2 separate regions of the Homo sapiens genome follow, and region 2 is linked to region 1. Evidence: promoter capture Hi-C in 16 types of primary human blood cells and fetal thymus (Javierre and others, 2016). All regions are on one chromosome and are shown on one strand. The core of a region is centred on a gene start or on the middle of the fragment in contact, and the rest is flanking DNA. Distances in the headings are between cores, read along the strand shown. Region 1 holds the start of GPR32 (G protein-coupled receptor 32). Region 2 overlaps SHANK1 (SH3 and multiple ankyrin repeat domains 1).

Evidence for each region. The method cuts DNA at HindIII sites, captures the fragments that hold promoters and counts their contacts. A CHiCAGO score of 5 or more calls a contact.
Region 2: a fragment that was not itself captured here is called in contact with the fragment with the promoter of GPR32 in region 1 in 4 of 17 cell types (megakaryocytes, endothelial precursors, erythroblasts and 1 more); the score reaches 7.9 in megakaryocytes.

The regions. Positions count from the first base shown.
Region 1 is chr19:50,768,570-50,771,745 of GRCh38, forward strand. GPR32 (G protein-coupled receptor 32) reads left to right here and starts at 1,895. Exons shown (of 1, transcript NM_001506.2): 1 at 1,895-3,163. The coding sequence starts at 2,032. The coding sequence ends at 3,102. The HindIII fragment of the contact is 17,473 bases long and covers 1-3,176 here.
Region 2 is chr19:50,696,876-50,699,791 of GRCh38, forward strand. SHANK1 (SH3 and multiple ankyrin repeat domains 1) reads right to left here. Exons shown (of 24, transcript NM_016148.5): 13 at 968-1,081; 14 at 714-789; 15 at 221-247. Among named protein-coding and RNA genes, the nearest start is that of SHANK1, 21 kb to the right of the region's middle. The HindIII fragment of the contact is 2,483 bases long and covers 246-2,728 here.

The DNA.
Region 1 (3,176 bases), core at 645-3,144:
TAAAATTCTGGATTGACAGACTTTTCTGCTGCCAATTTTTTCAAATAGTGGAGTAATTTTTAATATTTTGTCCAGATTTTAATTTTTTTTTTGTCTGTGGCACCATTTGTCTGACAAAGTTACTCTGACATTATCCAAAGTTAAAAGAACCTCCATCTCATTATTTTTACTTTATTTTTATTGAGACAGGGTCTCGCTTTATCACCCAGGCTGAAGTGAAATGGCGTGACCATGGCTCATTGCAGCCTCGAATTCCAGGGCTCAAGTGACCCTCGTGTCTCAGTCTCCCAATTTGCTGGGACTACAGGCACGTGCCACCATACCTGACTAATTTTTTTTTTTTTTTTTTTTGAGACAGAGTCTTGCTCTGTTGCCTGGGCTGGAATGAAGTGGCACGATCTTGGCTCACTGCAGCCCCTGCCTCCCAGGTTCAAGGGACTCTCCTGCCTCAGCCTTCAGAGTAGCTGGGATTACAGGCACGCACCACCAAGCCTGGCTAATTTTTGTATTTTTAGTAGAGACAGGCTTTTGCCATGTTGGCCAGGCTGGTCTCGAACTCCTGAACTTAAGTGATCCACCAGCCTCAGCCTCCCAAAGTGCTGGGATTACAGGAATGAGCCACTACGCCCATCTCACGGCTAATTTTTAAATTTTATTTTATTTTTATTTTTTTGAGACGGAGTTTCGCTCTCGTTACCCAGGCTGGAGTGCAGTGGCGCGATCTTGATTCACTGCAACCTCCGCCTCCCAAGTTTAAGTGATTCTTCAGCCTCATGAGTAGCTGGGATTACAGGTGGCTGCCACCACACCCAGCTAATGTTTTTTGTATTTTTAGTAGAGACGGGGTTTCGCCATGCTGGGCAGGCTGATCTCGAACTCCTGACCTCAGGTGATCCGCCTACCTCAGCCTCCCAAAGTGCTGGGATTACAGGCGTGAGCCACTGTGCATGGCCACAAAAACTTGTAATTATTTATTTTTTGTAGAGACGGTCTCACTATGTTGCCCACCTTGGTTTGGAACTCCTGGCTTCAAGCAATCCTTCTGCCTCAGCCTCCCAAAGTGTTGTGATTACAAGCATGAGCCACCACACCTGGCCCCTCCATTTCATTTATTATTTTTCCATAACACTTGTAGTCTTCTAAAGCAGTATATCATGAAGTAAATTTATTATATGTATTACACCTGACATCTCTCACTGGGATGTAAGTTCCATGAGGGCTTGTTTTGTTACACGAGTTATGTCCAGTACTTAGAACAATATTATAGTGTCCAGTGAGCCGAGATCGTGCCATTGCACTGCAGCCTGGGTGACATAAGGAGACTCTGTCTCAAAAAAAAAAAAAAAAAAAGAACAATATTATTGTGTCATAAAAAGCATTCAGGCTGGGCTCAATGGCTCACACTTGTAATCCCAGCACTTTGGGAGGCTGAGGTGGGAGGATCACTTGAAGCCAGGAGTTCAAGACCAGCCTGGGCAACACAGCAAAACCCCATCTCTACAAAAAAGAATTTAAGGCCTGGCAGAGTGGCTCACACCTATAATCCCAGCACTTTGGGAGGCTGGTGGACGGGTCACGAGGTCAGTAGTTCAAGACCAGCCTGGCCAACATGGTAAAACCCTGTCTCTACTAAAAACAGAAAAATTAGCCAGGTGTGGTGGCATGTGCCTGTAGTTCCAGCTACTTGGGAGGCTGAGGCAGGAAAATTGCTTGAACCTTGGAGGTGGAGGTTGCAGTGAGCCGAGATCATACCATTGCACTACAGCCTGGGTGACAGAGAGAGCAAGACTCTGTGTCAAAAAAAAAAAAAAAAAAAAAAGGTAAAAAAATTAGCCAGGCATGGTGGTAAGTGCCTGTAGTCCCAGCTACTCCAGGAGGCTGAGGGGGGAGGATCTCTTGAGCCTAGGAGGTGGAGGCTGCAGTGATCTGTGATTGTACCTTTGCACTCCAGCCTGGGTGACAGAGCATGACGCTGTCTCTAAAAGAATAATAATAATAAGCATTCCATAAAAATTATGGAATGGAGAAATCATGAATGGGGTCTCGGAGGGGACCAGAGGCTGCAGTGACAGGCAACCTGGGGTCCTGACACGTGATCGCTCTTGTTCCAGGAAGATGAACTCTTCCGGATGCCTGTCTGAGGAGGTGGGGTCCCTCCGCCCACTGACTGTGGTTATCCTGTCTGCGTCCATTGTCGTCGGAGTGCTGGGCAATGGGCTGGTGCTGTGGATGACTGTCTTCCGTATGGCACGCACGGTCTCCACCGTCTGCTTCTTCCACCTGGCCCTTGCCGATTTCATGCTCTCACTGTCTCTGCCCATTGCCATGTACTATATTGTCTCCAGGCAGTGGCTCCTCGGAGAGTGGGCCTGCAAACTCTACATCACCTTTGTGTTCCTCAGCTACTTTGCCAGTAACTGCCTCCTTGTCTTCATCTCTGTGGACCGTTGCATCTCTGTCCTCTACCCCGTCTGGGCCCTGAACCACCGCACTGTGCAGCGGGCGAGCTGGCTGGCCTTTGGGGTGTGGCTCCTGGCCGCCGCCTTGTGCTCTGCGCACCTGAAATTCCGGACAACCAGAAAATGGAATGGCTGTACGCACTGCTACTTGGCGTTCAACTCTGACAATGAGACTGCCCAGATTTGGATTGAAGGGGTCGTGGAGGGACACATTATAGGGACCATTGGCCACTTCCTGCTGGGCTTCCTGGGGCCCTTAGCAATCATAGGCACCTGCGCCCACCTCATCCGGGCCAAGCTCTTGCGGGAGGGCTGGGTCCATGCCAACCGGCCCAAGAGGCTGCTGCTGGTGCTGGTGAGCGCTTTCTTTATCTTCTGGTCCCCGTTTAACGTGGTGCTGTTGGTCCATCTGTGGCGACGGGTGATGCTCAAGGAAATCTACCACCCCCGGATGCTGCTCATCCTCCAGGCTAGCTTTGCCTTGGGCTGTGTCAACAGCAGCCTCAACCCCTTCCTCTACGTCTTCGTTGGCAGAGATTTCCAAGAAAAGTTTTTCCAGTCTTTGACTTCTGCCCTGGCGAGGGCGTTTGGAGAGGAGGAGTTTCTGTCATCCTGTCCCCGTGGCAACGCCCCCCGGGAATGATGGAAGACTTCAGCTGGAAGCTGGAAGCCGTCCTTCTTAGTTTGCTTGTGGCCTCTTACCTTGACTGGCTTCTA
Region 2 (2,916 bases), core at 237-2,736, 72 kb before region 1:
CCAGTATATACAGAGCAGGGCAGACCCTCCAGCCCCGGGCATAGGTACAGGTACATCCAGGCCACACATGCACACAGATGCGTGTCATGCACACCTACAGAGACACACGTTCACACACCAAGAAACCTCAGCTCTGGTCGTGCACACACGTTCACACGCCCCCCAGGCACCCCGTCCTTCCCCTCCTGACCCCATCCCCTCCCTGCCCCTCGCCTCTCACCTCCCTGGGCCAATCCCATCCATTAAGCTTCCGAAGCAAGTCAGCCAGCAGCCAGGGAGGGGAAAGGTGTCAGTGCACCCATCTCCTCACCCCAATCCCACCCAGCCCTGACTGCACCCTCCCCACACCGGTGCATGGGACACACACATTCCCACTGCACATGACTGCACAGAGATGGGGCACATGAAGGAGACAAGGGCCTCCAGCCAGCCAGACATAAGAGCGCCCCGGCCCCCCCAGGCATCCCCACCCTGCCCTGACCACCCCGTTGTCTCTGGCTACCCCAGAGCTGGGCAGTCTTAGTGGCTGCCGAAGATGGTTTGGGGTTGGGCTGTACTGTCTGAAGCTAATTCTGGCTTATCCCACCCCTGGATCAAACTTGAGAAGGAACAGATTAGAAAGGGGGCTTAGAGGTGATGGAAATATTTAAAGGTGTACATTGTGAAGGGAACTTGGGGTGAGGGGGGTTGCCCGAGGGTGTAAGGACATTTACCTTGGGGCATCAAAGCTGTCGTAGGAGCCCACGGTATAATGCCGGAAGAGTCTCTTTGCCTTGTCACTGCGGCTTTCTGCAGGGTGACAACAGACAACCTTGGACTCTTGTTTTGGAAACCACAATCCCAGCCCTAGAGCTCCTGGCCCAAGTCTTCCCATCTACCTCCCAGTACCCCACCCCCATTAGGAAGGGAAAGGAGTGGACGTGGGAATCCTAGGGTCCATTGAACACTGCTGGGGGTTCCGCATTACCTTGCTTGCTCTCCTGAGAGCGATTCGCCACTTCTTCCAGGCAGTCAGAGGGGAACCAGCCAACACGACCTTTGACCTGGCCTTCCCAGAAGCCTCCTTCCCCGATGCTAAGTACTGGATGGGGAACGGGGACATAGAGACATTTCTGTGTTTCTGTGCTGCCCCTCAACTGCCAACACACTCAACTTAGAGCATTCCCACAGTTACCAGCTCCTGGCCCAAGGCCATCCTTAATAAACATCTGAGGAAGGGGCGAGGAGCTTGGGGGAGACCCATATCATATCACTCTTGCATTCTAGTTTCTGGATCCAATAAGGATGACAGGCATTGGGGAAGACGACTGTTCCATAACATGGTCTTCCTAGGTTAGAGGCAGGTCCACAATTGGTCCTTGTCTCCCCTGGTAACTGGTCACAGCTCAGTTGTGTAATTCCCCTTCACCCTCCTAGGCTCTGTGGACTTAGATCACGGATGGGGCGACAAGTTCTACCTCACCCTCCCATCACTGTCCCTGCCACCTCCCAAAGTCTCCTTGCCACTTAATCTTTAGTCCTTTGTCCCCAGACCCCTGTCTCTGTCTCTCTCGGCCTCTCCTGGCTCTAGAAGGGAAAAGAGATTAGCATCACCTCTTTCCTTCTCTCCCTCTCCCCTAATGGAAGCGGCTTCCCCCTGCCCACCCTCCCAGGCCCCACCGCTTCCCCATTTAGCAAACATCACAGACTGCCTGTTACATGCCTGCTGCTGAAAAACAGAGATATATGACAAGAACAGCTAATGCGTATCCAACTCTCACCTGGGCCAGAACCCTAAGAGGGGCCACTTTCATTATCCCCCTTTTACTGATAGGAACACTGAGGCTTGGAGAGCCAAGATCATTTGCTGAAGGTTACAAGGCTAGTAACTGACAGATCTGGATTTGAACACAGCTCAGTCTGCTTCCAGAGGGCATACTTTCAGTCACTCATGTGCGCTACCTCTCCATGCAACGGCTTCAGTGCATGACAAGGGCACCAGTGGCAAACACATGGTCTTCCATTTCTCCGGCATTTTTCATGACTCTGCCCCCATTCAGCCCTTCACATAGTTTCCTTCCTCGTTCAACCCTTGTGCCTACCCAGGTAGGTAACAACTGTTTTTCCATTTTATAGACAAAGAAGCTGAAGCGAATGTGGAGAAAACCCTTGCCTGGAGATGGCTCCAGCTATGCTAGGGGTTGAGTTGGGGCCATCAGATGTATTCCCCTCCACAAACTGCCTCCCTTGAGAGCATCTGGGGAGACCAAATGAGGGGAAGCTGAAAGTCATGGAAGAGAGCAGGAGATGGGTTGTCAAGGGGACTGGGTTCTTGGCTGGTACTGCCATGCCTGGCTTGGTGGTCTTGTAATCAATCATTTGTTCACTGTAAAAATATTTAGTTAGTGCCAGTCATGAGTCAGGTACCAGGGTAGACACTGTTGAATATAATCAATGTTGTTCCTTCCTTTGAGGAGCTTCCAGAGCAGTGGCCAATAGAGGCATAACTATACAAGTGACTGTATGATTGGAAGTTGGGGTCAGAGCTCAAGGGAAAATAAGAGGGTGTTTGGAGAGAAGCCAGATGGGAGTATATAACTTATAATGGCAAAGGGGTCCAGGGAGGTGTCCCTGAGGTGTGACACATAGGTTGAGACCTGAAGGATCCTAGGAGCTGGGGAGGCAAAGAGAGCATGGAAGAGTTCCAGGCAGAAGGACCAGCATGTTTGAAGAGTTTGGTGTACAAGAAAGCTTGGGACATTGGAGGAATGGAGGGGTTGGTATATCGGAGGACTGGAGAATTGGAGGGCTCAGGGCATTGGGGGATTGGAAGGCTTGGGGCATTGGAGGAATGGAGGGGTTGGTAGCACTGGGGAACTGGAAGGCTTGGGCACTGGGAGGATTGGATGGCTTGGGCCATTGGGGGAATGGAGGGCT